Regions from separate parts of the Homo sapiens genome. Here region 1 is linked to region 2. Evidence: promoter capture Hi-C in human tissues and cell types (Jung and others, 2019). All regions are on one chromosome and are shown on one strand. Each heading gives the region's core, a stretch centred on a gene start or on the middle of the fragment in contact. The rest is flanking DNA. Distances are from core to core; before and after follow the strand shown.

Region 1 (5,357 bases), core at 989-3,488, 1.1 Mb after region 2:
TCTACCTATGACCTGCGAGCTGCCCACCACCCCCAGTTGTTGCGCCTTTCCAGACAGAACCAGTGTACATCTTACACGTATTAATTGATGTCCTGTGTCTCCCTAATATGTATCAAAGCAAGCTGTGCCTCGACCACCTTGGGCACATATCCTCAGGACATCATCCTGAGGCTGTGTCACTGGCATGTCCTTAACCTTGGCAAAATAAACTTTCTAAATTGAAACCTGTCTCAGGTACTTTGGGTTCATACCACAAGGGAGGGTTCTCATGCACATGTGCCTAATAATAACAACTATCACAAAAGACTGCAAAAACCACAACTTTACACAAAGGCTATCGTAACCTTCCTCAAAAAAAAAAAAAAAACAAAAAACTTCTGTTGCAAGGACATCTGCCCAGCAACTGCTTGTCCAACCCTGGAGTGCTGTCACCCTTGTTATTGATCTTTGTAGCCAAAGAATTATCTCAAAACAATGATGTGATCCTCATTTTCCCTTTAAAAACCTTTGTCTTCCTAGGCCGGGCACTGTGGCTCACGCGTGTAATCCCAGCACTTTGGGAGGCCGAGGCGGGCGGATCACAAGGTCAGGAGATCAAGACCATCCTGGCCAACATGGTGAAATGCCGTCTCTACTAAAAATACAAAAATTAGCTGGGTGTGGTGGCATGTGCCTGTAATCCCAGCTACTCCGGAGGCTGAGGCAGGAGAATCGCTTAAACCCGGGAGGCGGAGGTTGCAGTGAGCTAAGATCACGCCACTGCACTCCAGCCTAGTGACCAAGTGAGACTGTCTCAAAAAAATAAATAAATAAAATAAAAACCTTTGTCTTCCTTTACTTCCCTGAATACCCACATAGCTTATTGTGGCATGCATATTCCCATTGCAATGCCCTATTCACAAATGAACATCTTTTTCGTTCAGAGTCTCCCTGTGCTTTAGGTAGACCTTGTCTAGATGCTAACTCGTAGAGAAGAACTCAGCTTGAATATCACCCCTGGGGGATGACCTCCATTCTCTCCTCCTTCCTTTATTCAGCGAGGTTATGAAGCACCTGCCCTGGGCCAGGGGCTTTTCTGGGCATGGAGTAGGAGTGGACAGAACACAAAACCCCTGTCCAACACACCTCACAGACATTAAGGATTGAGTGCTGAGTATGCTTGGAGTCAAACTGTAAAAGATTTGAAGATATTTATTCATGTCATAGTCCCAGGAGATCCTGAGAACACGTGCTCAAACTGGTGGTGCTACAGCTTTTGGTTTCGTACGTTTTAGGGAGACATAAGCCATAAATCAATACATGTAAGATGTAACATTGGTTCCGGAAAGGTGGGACAACTCGAAGGTGGGGTGGGGCTTCCAGGTCATAGGTGGATTCAAAGATTTTCTGGGCCGGGGGCAGTGACTCACACCTGTAATCCCGCCACTTTGGGAGGCTGAGGTGGGCGGATCCCTTGAGGTCAGGAGTGAGAGACCAGCCTGGCAAATACGGTGAAACCCCGTCTCTACTAAAAATACAAAAATTAGCTGGGCTTGGTGGCGGGCGCCTGTAATCGCAGCTACTAGGGAGGCTGAGGCAGGAGAATCGCTTGAATCTTGGAGGTGAAGGTTGCAGTGAGCCGAGGTCGCGCCCACTACACTCCAGCCTGCGACAGAGCAAAACTCCATCTCAAAAAAATTTAATTAATTAAAAATTAAATTAAATTAAAATACTGTAAAATACTTCGATATCTTTCAGGGCCTGCCATCTGTCATGTCGGTATCCTATTGCTACGGAGAGTCCGCCTAGACAGTCTTAAGTCTGTTTTGACGTTAATGCTGGTCCGAATTCCAAAGGGAGGAGGAGGGTCTAGTGAGGCGGGTCCCACCCGGCCTTTCCCATCAGAGCCCGAACTCGCGGTTCAGGTTCCCTCTAGGACGCCCTTGGCCGAGAGGAGGCCTCCAATGGCTGGCTGGGGGGCTTAGAATTTTATTTTTGGTTTACAGCGCAGAAGAAGAGCAGTGAGGCCGGGGCGCGGGTGGGGAGGGCAAGGCGGCGGCTCAAAAAAAAAGCCAGCCCCTCGCGGCCCGACAGAGTCTCGGCGCCCCGCGGGTCGGTGGAGCCTCAGGGGTGAGCGCAGGCCGGAGACAGGGGAACCCGCCGCGGGACAGGGGAAGGCCGGACGGAACGCGGGTAAGCTGCCGCAGCTTCCGGCCGGGCCACTAGCGCGGACCCTACGGCCGGGGCGGGACTTCCGGCAAGGCGCGGAAGCGGCGGTAGCTGCAGCTGGCGAAGTTGGGCGACTGGCGGATGCAGGCCTTGCGGCACGTCGTGTGCGCCCTGTCCGGCGGCGTGGACAGCGCCGTGGCCGCGCTGCTGCTGAGGCGGAGAGGTGAGGCGTCCGAGGCTCCCGCCCCCCGCCGAGCGAATGTGTCCCCGGAAACCTGTCCCCGTCCGTCGTGGCGTTGTGCACGTCTCCTCCCTCCCTGGGCCGCTGGTTGCGCGCGGGTCGGCAGGAGGATACCCCGTCCTCTGACTTTGGTTCGGAGGCTCCTCGCCCTCCACCTGTGTAGTCGGAGGTGTGCGCGACTGCAGCTCCGACTACCTGGGAGCAGTTCCGCGCCCCTCTCCACCCACGCGCGCCCACCCACAGTGAGAAGCCGGCGGGCCGGGGTGGGGTGGGGAGGGAAGGGTTTCTCACGGATCTGCGGCGTCCACATTCACCTGTGAGACCGTGGACACTGGTGAGGGGAGCTGGGATCGCCGGGCCGGGGGCCTGACCTCTGCACACGCTGTGGCCGCCCGGTGGGAGGTCCTTGTCCTCCCCACTCAGCAGACTGGACAACTGCCGCGCGGCGGGTCTGCTTGTTCAGCGTCTCCTGTGTTCTCCGCTCGCTGGAGGACAAAGTTTTCTCCAGGAGCATTTGCATTTCTTCCGGCATCTAAACGGAGCCCCACGGGTGCTTAGCATTCCTCGGGCCCGGCGCTGAAATGAGCACTTGTTTAACTTCACCTGTGTGGCTCCCCGCGGGAGGCCTCATTCACAGAGTCACGTTTGTGGAGCTCTGCTTTGCGCCATCTTTGGCTCCTGACCTTGGGCAAGTGAATTAAGCCGTCCCCTGTAAAATTCGGCTAACACCTGCCTCACGGGGTGACTGGAGGGATTAGATGACATAGTACATACTGATGAGTACGTGCTCAGCACATACGAGGTACGCAGAAAACAGTAGTGGCTATTAGTTTATATTGTTAATAACCATAGCTATTATGGTAGGTACAGTAAGTGCCAAAGAGAAGGGTAGGCGGACCATAAGCAGAAATAGTTGTGAGGAAGGGAGAGTGGAGGAAAGCATCCTAGAGATGGAGGTGCTCAGCTGAGTCGAAAGAAGAGTAGGATGTCACTAAGCAGAGACTTGGAGGTGGAGGCGGCCCTCCCGGCACAGTCAGCAGTGCAAGCAGAATCACAGAGGCCTGCAAGTGTGGGCTGGTTCTGGCCAGATGGAGATGGAAGGAGAGGAGCCTGGAGCACGTTTAGCCCTGATTATGGAAGATGCTATACCAGGGGCTTTAGACTGTTAGGTAGACATTAGTCTGGTTGATCTGGGATAGGGGTGGTCTTTCGCGTGTGGTGGTGTAGTTTTGACAAAGCTTTGTCATCAAATTTCTGTTGTTTTGGGTACTATATGAAGCCTTCTTCAGCAGTCATTTGCCCTGTCTTTCATTACATTCAGCCTACCTAAACGAACCAGCTTTCTCATACAGGGTCTGCACCTGTGTAGTTTGCTAAGGTGGTGTAGGGCTAAAGTTGGCCTTTCCAATATTTGGGTGAATATTTTGTTACAATCGAAAAGGTAGAAAATAGGTCATAAACTAGGTGGTACAGCTCTTACAAAATATCGAAAATTTTAATTATCTTTATATCTGATCACTTAGAATCTAAGTCTTAGATAGTAACTAGAAATAACTTTTGAAAAGAGTTTCCTTTTTTGATAACTGAATGGTGCTTTGAAAAATTTTGTTGAGTTTCGACTATTCCTTCGTGTATTCCACACACACTGGCTGATCCCCTCCTGCTAGGTATTGTGCTGATACATAGATGGGGACACAAAGATGAGAAAATACCACCTCGTTAATCTTGGGGACTCAGGCACCAAGATGGAAACCGGATCCCTGAAGCCACATGGCAAAGCAGGGACTGCCCGGCAGGCCAGGCACAGAGGCACAGGAGCACAGCGTGTGGGGAACTTCTCAGAGCTCAGAAATCACTGCCGTTTTACCGAAGGTTGATTTATGTATTCTCTTTAATTGACCTTCCCGCCCGCAGGTTACCAGGTGACAGGGGTGTTTATGAAGAACTGGGACTCACTGGATGAACATGGGGTCTGTACTGCCGACAAAGACTGTGAAGATGCTTACAGAGTTTGCCAGATCTTAGACATCCCTTTCCATCAAGTGTCCTACGTAAAGGAGTATTGGAATGATGTGTTCAGGTGAGTGCGGGTCACAGCACAAAGGAAGCTTCCTCACACTGTGGATCCTTGCAGTGGAAGGATCCGGTAACCAGCCAGACCGACGCCTGTGCTGCAGCCCAGCGCTCTCCCTCCACGGTGGTGCTGAAGACTGCAAGAGGCCTCAGCCACCCTCGGGGCTCTGTGTTAGAGGCGAGGCCTGGACCCCACAGCACACCCAGCTCTCTCACTCCTGTCATTTTGCCACTTGCCTGAAGTCTCTTTAATGCTTTCTTGGACCTTGAGCTGTTTCTGTTGCCCAGTTAGGATAGGGGAGCTAAGGCTGAGGGCTCCCCTGGAAGGTGAGCACCAATGCCTGTGTGCTATGTGGGTCAGCGATTAGGGGATTTCTGAGAAAGAGGTGATACATGGCCTGTGCCTCTGAAAACAAGAAACAAACAAAAACTTTTCTAAAATCCAATATAATCTCAATAATTAAGTGCTGTGTGCTAGGCGTGTGCCACATCTAGGAACATTAAGATGTCTTCACTGTGACCTGGCTCTGTAGGAGTTTGCGGTCTAGTTGGGAGGACATTATCTTCACAAGAGGTGACAGTGATGCGTGGCACGCAGGAAGTACCAGTGATGCTATCAGTCACTGAACCCAGAGGAGGGAGAAACTTGCAGTGTGGAGTAATCAAGAAGGCTTCACCGGAGAGGAGGGGTTGCAAACAAAGTTGTAGAGAAGGGACTCCAAATGGGGTAACGAGAGCAGCGTGAAGGGGAGAAGAAATGCTGATTGTGTATTTCAGGACCGTTGTAAAGTTTGGCTGGACTTTTGTTCCTGCAGTGGAAGGAGTGTAGGGCTCATCCTCTGGTGAGCCCTGACTGTGATGAATGTCGGGCAGTTGTCGAAGGCGTCTGACACAG
Region 2 (5,534 bases), core at 2,409-4,908:
TATGATTAAAGCTGCAATAACAGAGCCAGACCCTATCTCTTAGAAAAAGGATAAAGAAAATCAGCAGAAACTAATTAATTTCTGTATGACGTTGATGACATAACCTCACTGGCAGAAAAAGAATAAAACGATCTGAGTAATTATAGAGCTGGGTTGTCCAGGGGTACCTCCTTAGTGGAGTACACTCTAAGAACTGGGAGGCCTGTGACAGAACCCCAAACCTCACTAGTGACTTTGTTATTGGCAGTGGGGAGGGCGGAGCCATTGTGAAGCAACTTTGGGTTATCCTAGGATTGGTGGTACCAGAACCCAGATTCTCACTGTAGGATGAGGGAGATTTGGAATGGAAGAAGGAAAATGCTGGTGTTTTGTTATTTGTAATTAGTTATGGAAAAAAATTACTAAAACAAGATTTTTAAGTGAAAAGAAAAGAAAAAGGCTGGCCAGGCACAGGCCTGTAATCCCAGCACTTTGGGAGGCTGAGGCGGGTGGATCACTTGAGGTCAGGAGTTCGAGACCAGCCTGGCCACATGGTGAAACCCCGTCTCTACTAAAAATACAAAAAAATTAGCTGGGCATGGTGGCGTGCGCCTGTAGTTCCAGCTACTCAGGTGGGTGGCTGAGGCAGGAGAATCTCTTGAACCCAGGAGGTGGAAGTTGCAGTGAGCCAAGATCACCCCATTGCACTCCAGCCTGGGCAATAGAGTAAAACTGTCTCAAAAAAAAAAAAAAAAAAAAGAAAGAAAGAAGGAAGGACAAAGAAAGAAGAAAGAGAGGAAGGAAGGAAGGAGAAAGAAAGAAAGAAGGAAGGAAGAAAGGAAGGAAGGAAGGAGAAAGAAAGAAGGAAGGAAGGAGAAAGAAAGAAGGAAGGAAAGAAAGGAAGGAAGGAAGGTAGAAAGAAAGAAAGAAAGAAAGAAAGAAAGAAAGAAAGAAAAAGAAAAAACTAGGTTCATTGAGACAGACCGAGAAGCAGTAATACCCAGTTGCAAGAGGCACCTTGCCACTGTTAGATCTTAAACTCCAGTCTCCAGTGAAAGGCACCAGTGCCCCTTGGAGAGATGGCTGAATCCAGAGCTGGGACAGGGAATGTCAAGAGGAGCCCGGGACATTTTATTGTGCCAGAAAGTAAAGAGGTTCTCAAAGAATGGTGGGAGCGTGAAAGCAGCTAGCACAGAGCTGCTGGAAGGAGCTGCCAACAGCCAGGCCTGGGAACATTTGAGCACAAAATAAATAATGGAAGTCATACATTCAGCTTGCTTTTTTTTTTTTTTTGAGACGGAGTCTCACTGTGTCACCCAGGCTGGATTACAGTGGCACGGCGCGATCTCAGCTCACTGAAACCTCCACCTCCTGGGTCCAAGAGATTCTCCTGCCTCAGCCTCCCAAGTAGCACTGATTAGAACTCACCGTCATGACCATGTCCTGCCCAAAAGGTTTAACTTGAATTTCATCAATAGGAAACCATCAGACAGATCCACATGCAGGGACTTTCTGCAAACCAGCTGGACTGGATGCTTTGCAAATGTTCACATCAGGAAAGACAGAAGCAAAACAAAACAAAAGGCTGAGAACTGTCTGATGGTTTCCTATTGATGAGATTCAAGTTAAACCTTTTGGGCGGGACATGGATGTCCAAGTAGCTGGGACTACAGGCGCCTGCCACCACGCCTGGCTAGTTTTTTGGGTTTTTTTGTATATTTAGTAGAGAAGGGGTTTCACTGTGTTGGCCAGGCTGGTCTCAAACTCCTGACCTCATGATCTGCCCACCTCGGCCTCTCAAAGTGCTGGGATTACAAGCGTGAGCCACCGCATCCAGCTGGGGAAAGATTTTTAGGGATCAAGGGCCGGGCGCGGTGGCTCACGCCTGTAATCCCAGCACTTTGGGAGGCTGAGGTGCGTGGATCACAAGGTCAGGAGATTGAGACCATCCTGGCTAACACAGCGAAACCCCGTCTCTACTAAAACAATACAAAATATCAGCCAGGCATGGTGGCAGGTGCCTGTAGTCCCAGCTACTCGGGAGGCTGAGGCAGAAGAATGGCGTGAACGTGGGAAGTGGAGCTTGCAGTGAGCCGAGATCACGCCACTGCACTCCAGCCTGGGTGACAGAGCAAGACTCCGTCCCCCCCAAAAAAAAAAAGAAAAAAAAGATTTTTAGGGAACAAGACATACATTAATCCAGAGATACCAACTTTACCAAATGATGAAATGGAACATCCCCAATAATGGGACACACTGACCTCATGTGCTTCCTTCCTCCATTCCAAATCTCCCTCATCCTACAGTGAGAATCTGGGTTCTGGTACCACCAATCCTAGGATAACCCAAAGTTGCTTCGGAATGGCTCCGCCCTCCCCACTGCCAATAACAAAGTCACTAGTGAGGTTTGGGGTTCTGTCACAGGCCTCCCAGTTCTTAGAGTGTACTCCACTAAGGAGGTACCCCTGGACAACCCAGCTCTATAATTACTCAGATCGTTTTATTCTTTTTCTGCAAGTGAGGTTATGTCATCAACGTCATACAGAGATTAATTAGTTTCTGTTGATTTTCTTTATCTTTTTTCTAAGAGACAGGGTCTGGCTCTGTTATTGCAGCTTTAATCATAGCTCAAAGTGGCATGATCATAGTTCACTGTAGCCTCGACCTCCTGGGCTCAAGCAATCCTGGGACTACAGGCATGCCCCACTAGGCTGAGCTAATTTTTTTTTTTTTTTTTTTGGTAGAGATGGGGTCTCACTATGATGCCCAGGATGGTCTCTAGCTCCTGGCCTCAAGGGATCCTCCTATCTTGACCTCCCAAAGTGTTGGGATTACAGGCATGAGCCTCCTTGCCCCTCTTCTGTTGTTTTTTTCCTATCCTTGTTGACTTACTTTTATTTCTTAAATGTAAAATTGATTTAAGGTGCATCCAGAGATGTGCACAGATTCTTGTGATGGAGGGAACCGCACAGTCATGGTGAGGAGTCCATCATAATTTTCAAACGCCCCTTTAAGAAGTAGGCATTAACACCCTGCTCCATCCCTTTGGAGGCAGCCCTGGGCTGAGCACTGGACTCCTGGGTTCCACCAGCCTCAGTGTCTCCAGGAGACCAAGCGCGGCCGGGGGTGAGTCCCTGTCCCCGCGCCCCCCACCACGCTCCAATACTTACCCCCTGCCCCACCCCCCAGCCTCCCGGGCCTTGGCTTGTACCTGTGAACCGAAGGGGTCATACTAGGCGTCATACTAGGGTCTCTGGATAGCTCCCAGGCCTGGACTTCGTTTTCCAGGATATCACCTTTACTGGTCAACCCATTTTGTTTCGCGAGTGCCCAGTGAGTGTTTGGCACGTAATAGAGCCTCCATAAATAGTTGTAGAAATTAGCGTCATTTTACAGTATGGAAACTGAGGCTCCAAGTGGGAGTGGCTTGCCCTCAAGGTCCCATTGGTGAGAGACGCTGTGGAAGGGCTGCCCTGGCCTGGGCACACAGTAGGCGCTTTGATGCGGGCTGGAGAAGGTCCTGCCCGGTGGGATTGCGCCCTGGGGCACCGCGCACGGGTCGGGGAAGCCCGGGGCAGGGCCGTATGCAAATAGCGCGCGAGGAGGCCGCGGATTGGCCAGCCCAGGCGGGGGCGGGGCGCGCCGAGGGCCCAGAGCTGGCAGGTGCCCTGGCAGGGACAGGTCTGGTGCCCGCGCCTGCTCGCTGGACCGCCCGCCCCGCGCTCTGGCGGCTCCTCCCGGGCGATGCCTCCGCTCTGGGCCCTGCTGGCCCTCGGCTGCCTGCGGTTCGGCTCGGGTAGGCGGTGAAGGGCAGGAGGGGGCTGAGCCCAGAAAGAGCGGGCAGCTCTGCCCTGGGGCGCCCGCCGCCTGGACCCTGATTCCTGGCGCTGGGGACCCAGATATTACTGTTATGAATAATAGTGATAGCCAACGTTTACGGGCCTCCTCTGTTGGGAATCCGAGGGCTCACAGATGGCTGCAGCCCTGCGATGTGTGTTGCAAGAGACCAACATGCAGGGGGGCTGCGGTAGGACAGAGAAGGGACTAGCCCCAGCCCCATGGTGACGCCTGGACGGGGGCAGATAGAGAGATATTTCGGCCGAGGAAGCAGCATGGGCAAGTTCATGGAGGGGAGACAATATTGGGCTGTCCTGGGAACTGCCAGTCCATGGGACCAGCTGGAGCCTGGGGTGAGGGGAGCCTGTGGGGGAAGGGGTGAGGCTGGAGACCGAACAAAGCAAAGCCCAGAACTTCAGGACCTCACTGCCTTTCCAGAGAGGCTGGACTTCGTCAGGGGGCGCTGGGGGACCATGGGAGGGCCATAGCCAGAGAATGAGGCAGTCAGACTTGCATGTGGGGGGAGGGCCCAGGTGAGGAAGGTGGGACGGAGGAGGGCTGGGCCGATGGCATGGAGAGATGCTTAGGAGGGGCAGTGGAGTTCTTGGCAACTGAGTGTCTGCAGCAGGGAGAGAAGGCAGCAGTTTGGCCCGACCGCTCCATTTCTGAGCAGGATGACTGGGCAGGGGGCAGTGTCTGAGACAGCTTATGCGGTGGCCCAGGGGGAGGGTGAAGCCCAGGGCCTGGCACACAACACGTGCTCAGTAACTGCAAGCAGAGTGGGTGTGGACAGTTCTGCCGGAGGTCAGTTCCCATCCTCACTGCCTCCTCCAGCTGTGAACCTGCAGCCCCAACTGGCCAGTGTGACTTTCGCCACCAACAACCCCACACTTACCACTGTGGCCTTGGAAAAGCCTCTCTGCATGTTTGACAGCAAAGAGGCCCTCACTGGCACCCACGAGGTCTACCTGTATGTCCTGGTCGACTCAGGTAAGGGTCCTGCTTCCCTCTGGCTACTCCAAAAGGGGCTCTGACCTGTCTGCAGGGAGGAGGGAAGGAGGCAGATAGAGGAACCCTCCATGCCTGTAGTCGTCTCATTAAACAGGTACTGCAGCCACAGACCTGTCCTTGCCTTGCAGGGACATCCAGTTAGTGAGGGAAGTAATAACACCACCAGTCACTGAACACCTACACCATACCAGGCACTTTGCACACCATAGAGCTAGTATCTACAACCAGCTTGTAAGGTAGCTATTACCAATCCCCATTACAGAGCAGGGAAGCAAGGCTCAGAGAGGTGGAATAACCCCCCCTGGACCTCCCAGGGCTGGAGAGTGAATCCTGATCTCTCTAGTCCCCAAGCCCAAGGTCCTTCCTGAGGCTTCGAAAGGTGGCTCAAGATTGGTGTTTCTGAGACAAAACCATGCATTTGGACCTGCTGCTGTGGCCCAGCCCCAACCCCTGCCCTGGAGGGGATCCTGAGCTTCTGAGACAAGCCAACATCAACTCTTGCATTTCTAGCAGCCAGTCATTTACAACAGCTCATTCGGGACCATCCTTTTCTTCTTTCAGCATGTGTTTATTGACTATAAACTAAAGTGCCTGATCTCCGGGCACTGTAGGGAATTTCTCTCCCATTTCATAGAAGACTAGGGTCTGAAGAGGTAGAGTGAGTTGTCCAAGGTCACCCATCTAGTAAGGAGGAGAGCTGGGTCCTG

The links. The method cuts DNA at HindIII sites, captures the fragments that hold promoters and counts their contacts. A contact is called where the count stands out against the background at its distance.
Region 1: a contact is called between the fragment with the promoter of TRMU here and the fragment with the promoter of UPK3A in region 2, in 1 of the 25 tissues and cell types used here (aorta).

What each region holds. Positions count from the first base shown.
Region 1 is chr22:46,333,476-46,338,832 of GRCh38, forward strand. It overlaps TRMU (tRNA mitochondrial 2-thiouridylase), which reads left to right and starts at 2,239. Exons shown (of 11, transcript NM_018006.5): 1 at 2,239-2,371; 2 at 4,304-4,469. The coding sequence starts at 2,290. RefSeq lists enhancers at 2,277-2,496, 2,329-2,828 and a silencer at 2,637-2,686. The HindIII fragment of the contact is 7,028 bases long and covers 1-4,062 here.
Region 2 is chr22:45,281,291-45,286,824 of GRCh38, forward strand. UPK3A (uroplakin 3A) reads left to right here and starts at 3,659. Exons shown (of 6, transcript NM_006953.4): 1 at 3,659-3,775; 2 at 4,651-4,806. The coding sequence starts at 3,724. RefSeq lists a silencer at 3,480-3,789. The HindIII fragment of the contact is 20,192 bases long and covers 1-5,534 here.